Linked DNA regions of Homo sapiens: regions 1 and 3 are each linked to region 2. The links are contacts of gene promoters, found by promoter capture Hi-C in human tissues and cell types (Jung and others, 2019). All regions are on one chromosome and are shown on one strand. Each heading gives the region's core, a stretch centred on a gene start or on the middle of the fragment in contact. The rest is flanking DNA. Distances are from core to core; before and after follow the strand shown. Region 1 overlaps IPO13 (importin 13). Region 2 holds the start of ERMAP (erythroblast membrane associated protein (Scianna blood group)). Region 3 overlaps RNF220 (ring finger protein 220).

What was found. The method cuts DNA at HindIII sites, captures the fragments that hold promoters and counts their contacts. A contact is called where the count stands out against the background at its distance.
Region 1: a contact is called between a fragment that was not itself captured here and the fragment with the promoter of ERMAP in region 2, in 1 of the 25 tissues and cell types used here (hippocampus).
Region 3: a contact is called between a fragment that was not itself captured here and the fragment with the promoter of ERMAP in region 2, in 1 of the 25 tissues and cell types used here (mesenchymal stem cells).

What each region holds. Positions count from the first base shown.
Region 1 is chr1:43,950,100-43,952,799 of GRCh38, forward strand. IPO13 (importin 13) reads left to right here. Exons shown (of 20, transcript NM_014652.4): 2 at 1-54. Among named protein-coding and RNA genes, the nearest start is that of IPO13, 4.5 kb to the left of the region's middle. The HindIII fragment of the contact is 3,680 bases long and covers 1-2,700 here.
Region 2 is chr1:42,815,830-42,818,529 of GRCh38, forward strand. ERMAP (erythroblast membrane associated protein (Scianna blood group)) reads left to right here and starts at 1,293. Exons shown (of 12, transcript NM_001017922.2): 1 at 1,293-1,424. SVBP (small vasohibin binding protein) reads right to left here and starts at 1,568. Exons shown (of 3, transcript NM_199342.4): 1 at 1,361-1,568; 2 at 602-751. The coding sequence starts at 715. RefSeq lists silencers at 442-511, 1,072-1,271, 1,422-1,711. The HindIII fragment of the contact is 4,586 bases long and covers 1-2,700 here.
Region 3 is chr1:44,632,681-44,635,380 of GRCh38, forward strand. All of the region lies in intron 6 of RNF220 (ring finger protein 220), which reads left to right. LOC107984950 (a long non-coding RNA gene) reads right to left here. Exons shown (of 2, transcript XR_001738031.2): 2 at 2,558-2,700. Among named protein-coding and RNA genes, the nearest start is that of SNORD145, 37 kb to the right of the region's middle. RefSeq lists enhancers at 1-16, 86-633. The HindIII fragment of the contact is 4,886 bases long and covers 1-2,700 here.

The DNA.
Region 1 (2,700 bases), core at 85-2,584, 1.1 Mb after region 2:
CGACAGCAGTGTGGAGGCCATTGTGAATGCCATCTCACAGCCTGATGCCCAGAGGTGAGCTAGTACCCACTCACCCAGAAGACAACCTCTTTGGCCAGCCACACATCCATCCATCCATCTGTTCAATAAACATTAATTGAATGTGTACTGATACCTGGTCCTATGCTGGAGATACAGCAAGGAACCAAAGAAGACATGGTCCCTGTCCTCATGGTTCAGACAGGGAGGCAGACATTAAACAACTAATTATCAGTTATTCAATTAAAATATTTGACTCTCTTTTCCTTCTCTCAACTAGTCACCAAGTCCTGGCTGTTCCCCTCCTGACCATATTGCAAATCTATTTTTTTCCATTTCCATTGCTACCACCTTAGTCCAAGCTGTCATCATCTCTCTCCCCAGATTACTGTAGAGCTTGTCCTCACTCTTGTACCCTTCATTGTCCCAGCAGCCACAGTGATCTTTTGAAAATGGGGATCTAATCTTTCTGATCAGAAGCTTTCAGTGGCTTCTCAATGCTCTTAGGTTAAAGCTCAGAATCCTTAATGTGACTCATAATGGTGCTGCACAGTATGGCATCACTGGCCTCATCTCATGCTACTCTCCTTGCTCTCTACACGCTCACACAGTTTCTTTAATTCCTTGAATGTCCCATGTTCCTTTCAGCCTCTGGCTCATTACATATACTTGACACCTTGCCTCAGCTTAAACTTCATTTCCATAGGGAAGTCCTCCATGGATTCTTAAGGCTAAGTTTGATCTTCTCTCTTATATTACCTCAGAGCTCCCAGTATTTTTCCTTCTTAGCCCATAACATGATTTCTCTCACCTCTGTGAGGACAGGGACTCTGTCATTTTACTTTGTCGCATTGTGCTCGGCACATGGTAGCATTTGATATTTTGTGAATGGAGGAAAGTAGGAGTTGCCTGAGTTGGGAGGGGTGGGGCTGGAAGGGATTGGGGGAGGAAGGTGGATTGTTCTAGGCTTTAGGAACCACAGCATGTGCAAAGACTTGTGGGCAGCATCATGATATATTCAAGGGCCCTAAAGAAGTGAGTGTAGTGAAGTGTTTGGCAAATGTTCATTGAGCATGTCCTGTTTTGGGCCCTGTGCTGAGCTCTGGGAGCACAGAGACAAATGCTTTAGCTTCAGTCTCAGGAGCTCACAGTCTAGTGGACACATGAGTGGCAAGTACAATCAACATGATGAATCCTCTGATGGAGAACGCAGGGGCCTTGAAGAACCCAGAGGAGGCTTTCACTGAGTCTGAGGGCTGTGAAAGGATTCGCAGAGGAAGTGACAACCCAGCTGTGTAAGAGTTAGCCAGATGGAAGTGATGGATGGGGAGGACATTCCAGCCCAAGCAAGGGAAGGGTGAAAGCCCAGAGGGTCTGGTGATCTGTAAATCATTAGATGTGATTAGACAGCAAGATTTAAGGGCCAGAGGTATAGGAGACCTGGGCCCAGATCATGCAGGACCTTGGCCAAGTTTAAGATTTTGATCTTCATCCTGAAGACGATATAAAGATATTAAAGGATTATAAGCAGAGAAAATGGCCTACTGAGACTTTTGGTATGAGCTGGATTAGAAGAAGTGAGACTGGAGGTCCTGATGCTGACATTTCAGAGATGGGGCTTTGGGACCTTTGGCAGAATTGGAAGGGAAAACCATTGAAAGAGACTTCATGGAAGAGTGGCTGATGACTCAAGCCTTGGCATTAGTCACATCTAAGTTTGAATCCCAGATGGTTCACTTATTAGATCTGAAATCTTGGATCAGCCATTCCTAAGGCTCCGTTTCCTCATCAATAAAATGGGGATGATCATATCAACCCCACAGAGTTGAAAAGGTTTAAACAGGATAATGTGCACAAGTCCTGCCCCTGGTGTTCGGTAGAGAATATTTTGACTCCTTGAGTAATGGGAGTTCTTTTGTGGTCTCTGCTAGGGTTGGGATGGTCAGTAGCATGCATTTGTACCTTTGGGTTATTGATACGTTACATGTTTTAAAATGGGAACTGTGTGTATATGTTCTACCTTTATACTTTATGTGATCAGTTAATGGTAATTGTTTATTTATTTATTTTGAGACAGAGTCTCACTCTGTCACCCAGGCTGGTGTGCAGTGGCACAATCTCGGCTCACTGCAACCTCCGCCTCCCGGGTTCAAGCGATTCTCTTGCCTCAGCCTCCAGAATAGCTGGGATTACAGGCGTGCATCACCACGCCCAGCTAATTTTTGTATTTTTAGTAGAAACGGGGTTTTGCCATGTTGGTCAGGCTGGTCTTGAACTCCTAACCTCAGGTGATCCATCTGCCTCCGCCTCCCAAAGTGCTGGGATTACAGGTATGAGCCACCATGCCTGGCCAACTGTTCATTTTTTTAAAGAGAAACATAGTTACTATTAAATGGATTAAGGCTGTTTACTTTTAGTACTGGTCATAAGAAGTAGAACTGGAATCATGCAATAGAAAGTGGGCCTAGTTGTTCAGTGGCTAAATTTGAAAAGGAGTTGGTTTCCTATATATATATGTGTGTGTATACATACATATATTTATATGTATATGATACACACACACACATAGATAATGTGCTTAATCACTGCCTTTTGAAACTTTAAATAAAATATTGGGTTGATTTTAAAAAATAAAAGATTGTTTCGGTATGAGGATTAAATAAGAGAATGTGAAGCTTTTAG
Region 2 (2,700 bases), core at 43-2,542:
AAAAGGATGTAAGACAGGAAATGAACAAAGCAGACAGATAAACAAAACAAAGAGGGAAAAAGAGACCAGCAAGATTTTCCCTGACATTAAATACTAAAATAAAATACTTATGTCTGTATGTGGCTCAATATTGGCAGGGTAAAGTTTAAAGCTTTTTATTCTCAAGTTGATTGTAATCGTTGAGAGAACAAAGGAACACACTGGTGAGTTTAAAGCTTGGGCCTCTACCTGGCATGAGTAGCTGCTTTCCGCACCAAATCCAGAACATCTGTACTGGGGGTGTCTGACACTTGCGTGCTCTCTCTCATTCTGACCCCTTCTTTCCCCTTACATATCATTTTTTTTCCTTTCTTCCTTCCCTTGGGTCTCTTACCACAAAAGCTCCGCACCAGACTGGGGTTCTGACACTAACTTGGCATGTGATTCTGGGCTGCCACCTCACCATTCTGAACCTCAGTGTTGTCCCCTCTAAACCTGGGAGAACACCCATCCTGCCTGGAGGCAAGTATGGCTCGCTGTCAGTTCTCCTTTCTGCTGTTTCTCTATTCCAGCATCATCTCCAGCAGACTACAGGCATACAGAGCCTCCGCCTTAATCTCACCTCTGCTCTTTGTCTCTGCTTCAGCTCCTGCTGGGCTGATTTCTGTTTGGCCTTCTCAACTCTGCTGACAGATTCTTTAACTTTGGTTTTTTCTTTACGTGCAGGTGGATCCATGGCTTGACTTCTGGATATTTCTTAGGAGGCTCTGATCTGGGTGGTACAGAAAGAGGCAGATCTTCAAAACAAAACAAAACAAAAAATACCCTGCCAGTTACTCCTCTAATCCTTTAGCTCCGCCCCATCCTTTGCCAGGTGAGGCAGAGTGGTCTGGTGGCAAGGGCGCTGGATGTGGGGGAGTAGGAACCGAGTCCCAAGGCCACAACCTCGCTGGGTGTCCCTGGGCAAGTCTCCTCCCCACTTTGAGCCTTAGTTTTCTGTCTGCAAAATGGGTTAAGTGTTTTCCTGGCCTCCCTCCAGGAGCTGCTGTGTGCGGGTGAAATGCAAAGACCCCTGTGAAAGCGTTGCCCACTGTGCGGCGTGCGGCACCCAGCGCGGAACCGTCCTAATGGGACGCTGAGACCCAGAGGGCGCCCAGGGTTTTCCCACTGCGGCCGGCCTAACTCCGCCGCAGCAGCCGCTCCTGGGGCCAGGGGGCCGGGCCCCATAGCCAGCCGGGCCCGCCCCCCACCGCCCGGCCCCCCGACCCCGCCCCGGCCCGCCCGGCCCCAGGGGACGGCCCCCGCCTCCTGCCCTCTTCCCTCTCCTGGAGGAAAATGGCGGTCGCTGGAGCCGCCGACCAAGAGGCTTGGGAGTCTGTACCTTTCCCGACCGGGCCACTGGAAGTTGGAGCCTCCGCCGAGTCGCAGACAACGCCTCCGGGAGGGTAATCCTCGCCTTCCCCCGACCACTGGACCCAGCGCTGCCTGCCCACCGCCCCTCGTCCTGGGCGGGGCCGCGCGCCGGGGGGAGGGGCGCAGGGCCGAGCGCCAGGAGGCTTCCGCCCGCAGGAGCGGCCGCGCGTGCGCAGAGAGGATGGCTGGAAACCCGCGTAGAGGGCGGGGCGGGGCAAGCCGGTGCCGGGGCGGGGCAGGGGCGGAGCCACACCGGGGTGGGTGGTGGTTACGGCTAACCAAAGCTTTTTCCCGTTATATTTTCTGCAACAGCTACTAGGTTTTAGAGGGTGAGATCCGAATCCTGGAATTGGAATTGCTCAGAATTCGAATTCCGAGGCTCAATTTCTTAATTCGAAAAGTGGGGATTGATGATTGCCACCTTCTTCATTCATGAGTTTATTGGGAGGATCAAGTGAGATCCCGTTTGCCACAGTGCTTTGAAAAAGGAAATCTTGACAGAAGTACCAATAGCCAGTATAAATACAGAGAACATTCACGTTCAACTGATTACCGAGGAGATGTAAATTAAAATAGCTGGCTGTAATTTTCCAGGTATTACATTAGCAAGGATTGACAAAAATGATAATAGCTACCTTACATTTGGGCTTACTATATTCCAGGCACTGTTCTTACAGCTTCACATTTATTAACTAATTCCTCATAATAAGTGTGTATAATGTATACGTGTATATTATTATCCCCATTTACACATAAGGGAACAGAAGCATTGAAAAGTTAAGTGAGTTGTCCCGGGTCACACAGCTTCTAAGTGCTGGAGCAAATATTTCAGCCAGGATTCATAGGACAATGGCCTTATCCAAAGTAAAACCCTGTTTGGGTCCACTATTTGTTCCTCTATCAAACTGGCAAGAATTGAAACAACTGATAGATGCTAAGCAAGCAATGAACTCAGCCCAGATGGACACACGCTTCCAGTCAAACTGTAAATCGTTAACAGCCTTTCTGGAGGTCAGTTTAGTACTAGGTATCAAAAGCCTTAAAAGTGAGCACAATGCCCCAAAAAGACAAATACTGCATGTTTCCATTCATATGAAGTATCTAAAGCAATCAAAGTCTAAGAAACAGAAAGTAGAATGGTGACTGCCAGTGGCTAGGAGAGAGGGAAAAGAGGAATTGTTTAAAGGGTATAGAATTTTAGGTTTGTAAGGTGAAAAAGTTCTAGAGATCTACTGCACAATGTTTATTTTTTATTTATTTAATTTTTAAAAAATAGATGGGGTCTTGCTCTGTCACCCAGGCTGGAGT
Region 3 (2,700 bases), core at 133-2,632, 1.8 Mb after region 2:
TCAGCTTTGAATTTGCAAACTGCTGGGACCTCACTATACAAACCTGCAGGGCGCTGAGAATGTTTTTCTTCCAGTTTTTAATCAGTGCCCAGTAGTGTGAATACAGCCCCTCTGCTGAGACTTGACAATACAGTGAGATCTGGAGTTCCCACGGCAACAGGAACTAACTCATCCCAGGGCTCTTTGAGTTATCAGTCGGCCCACATTTCACAAAGGTGATCAGCGTGGGCTCGACAGCTCTTAGAGGCCTTCTCTGAAAGCAGGCCGTGTATGCACTACCTAGCAGCCCCCCTTTTGGATTCAAACCTCTGGAGCATTCCTGTTTGCTGAATACAATTGAATGATCCTAGCTTTTTGTGCTTACTGGGGTGTGGTATCTGGGGGGTGGCTGTAAGGGGTTTAGGGTCTCTGGGTCAGCTGGTAAGTGAGAGAGGCCATGGAGTTCAAGATCCCCAGCTCTTATCACTTGGTTTCTGCTGCCAGGCTGAGCCCTAGTCTGGAAAAGGGAGAAATTCATGATGGGCTGGCGCCATGTTAAGCACCATTCTCACAACGCCTCTGAGAAGAGTATTACACACCTTTTGTGAATAAGAAAACAGGCTCTGAGAGGTGAAAGTGGTTTGTTTAAAAGTACACAGCTGGGATGTAACTGAGCCATGATTCAATTGAAGTTTGTTTCCCACCAAAGCCCGTGTTTCTCCAACCATGCCATGCTACCTCCTTGGCAAATGCTTTGATTCTTCCTACTCGTACGTAGCCTCTGGATAGAGAACAGAACTTTCCCTACCACACTTTGGTAAGCTTAATTCAGGATTTAGAAGATGAATGGGAAGGTGAAAACCAAACCTGCCTTCCTTCTCTGAGAATTTGCAGATGAAGCCCAGTCCATTGGGGTGCTTTCCAGGGACAACAAGGGATCATCTGCTGGCCTGTGTGTCCTGAGCAAGGAGCGCATCCAGTATTGTGCCTTTCTTGACCATTCCATGAGATTCGTTTCCTTAGTCATTGAACATTGTGGTATCATCAGCACCTTCTTCCCCAGGGAGGCATTCCCTTGGTGTAGGCATGGTAGGGAGGAAGCTTTGTGTTGGCACACTGCTCCTTACTACACTTCTAGAACTCTCAGGGTCCTTTGCTCAATGCCTTTCTGATGTTTCACGTCCATTCTCCATCCCAGCCCTGGCTCTAGAGTGTCAAGGCTACCTAAGTCTGAGATTCCAAGAGTTAGGGCAGCCAAAATGAAGAGTTCTCGATCTGTGTCCACAAAGTCAAGTGAGGCACTAGGACACAGTCATGTCACCTATAGTGAAGACACAGGAAAGTGAAGAGATGGACTGGGCTACAGACCAAGTTTCCTCAAACTCCATGCCCAGTTCTGGCAGGATGGTAGCTTTCCTTTTGGTTTGGGTCTTTCTGGGGTTGCTCTGTTTTGGAGTTGGAGTAGCTCCCTGCCTCAGGCTCACAACAGGCAGGAGCTGGAGCCCTAGCACACTCACTGGGACCAGTCTTTGTTGATGCTGCTCAGTTAGGAGGTCCCCTTGAAACAGGAGGGCATTCTAGGTTGTGAAGTCAGTTCTGGTTTCCTATCTTGCCTTTGCCACTTTTTAGCTACTTGGACACGTACCTTGATCTCTCTAAGCTTTGGGTTTCTTCATCTGTTAAAATGGGATAATGCAATCTAGCTTCAGCAAGTGGTAGTAAATGAGCTACCTTGGGTAAGGTACTTGGCTGTGAGCCTGACACACGGTAGAAGCTTAAATTGTAACATAGCAGCTCTCACCTGTGTTCCCCTCCTAGATTGCATTCATGAGCTTCCCGTTAGGGTCACTGTCCATGAGAAAGTTCTTCCTGGCCCTGCTTTGGGGAACCTTTCCCTCCTTTGCTGGCTCTCCCCACTCCCCATCAGTCTGGTCCCAGAGTAGCCATCTCTGATCCTGCTGTGGCATTCTGGAAGGGACTAGAGGGAAGAGAGTTTCTTGTTTTGACCCCTTCCTGCTTCAGTGACAGGAGGGCTACAGAGAGGGATTAGTGAGCTAATTAGAAATGATTGCATTGCTCAGCATTAATTAGCAGTGTTGTGGGCTTGCAGTGTGCACTTTGGAACTGAGCCCCCTGTGGGACAACATGGCAGGCAGCCCTCTGCCTCCAGGGCCTGCCAGCCCCTCTGTACTGATTAGAAATGATGGAACAGGTTCGGGTGGGCACAATAAGGGCTGCCTTCTCAGGGTTCCCTGAGCCTTCTGACCTGGCTGCCAAAGGTCTGACCCAGACCGTCTTACCTTTATGACTGGGCCTCAGTCTCCTCTTCTGTGAAATGGGATTAGTGGACCTCAGAGAAATTCTTCCTGATAAGATTCTAGGTGGGATGCTAGGAGCTGTACCTCAGGGCTCTTGGCCCAGGAACCAAAGAGGATTTAGCTGATGAGTGAACAGCAGGCCAAGTCAGGCCATCGGAGGGGTTAGGTTCTAGTCAAGAGATGCTCTTTAGAGTTGTATTTCCTGACACCAAAAGAGTTCATGGTCTTGGCCTTCTGGAGAGATACCTAGCAACATGGAGTGTCTTTGCTCACTGGATTTTTATTAAACACTGCAAATAGAAAGGTATGGGTAGACCTTGCACCAGCTGCAGCCAAAGAGTGGACTTACTCACTGGCTTAGTTAGCACCAGTCTCCTCCCCAGGTGCTCTTGGCAAAGCCCAG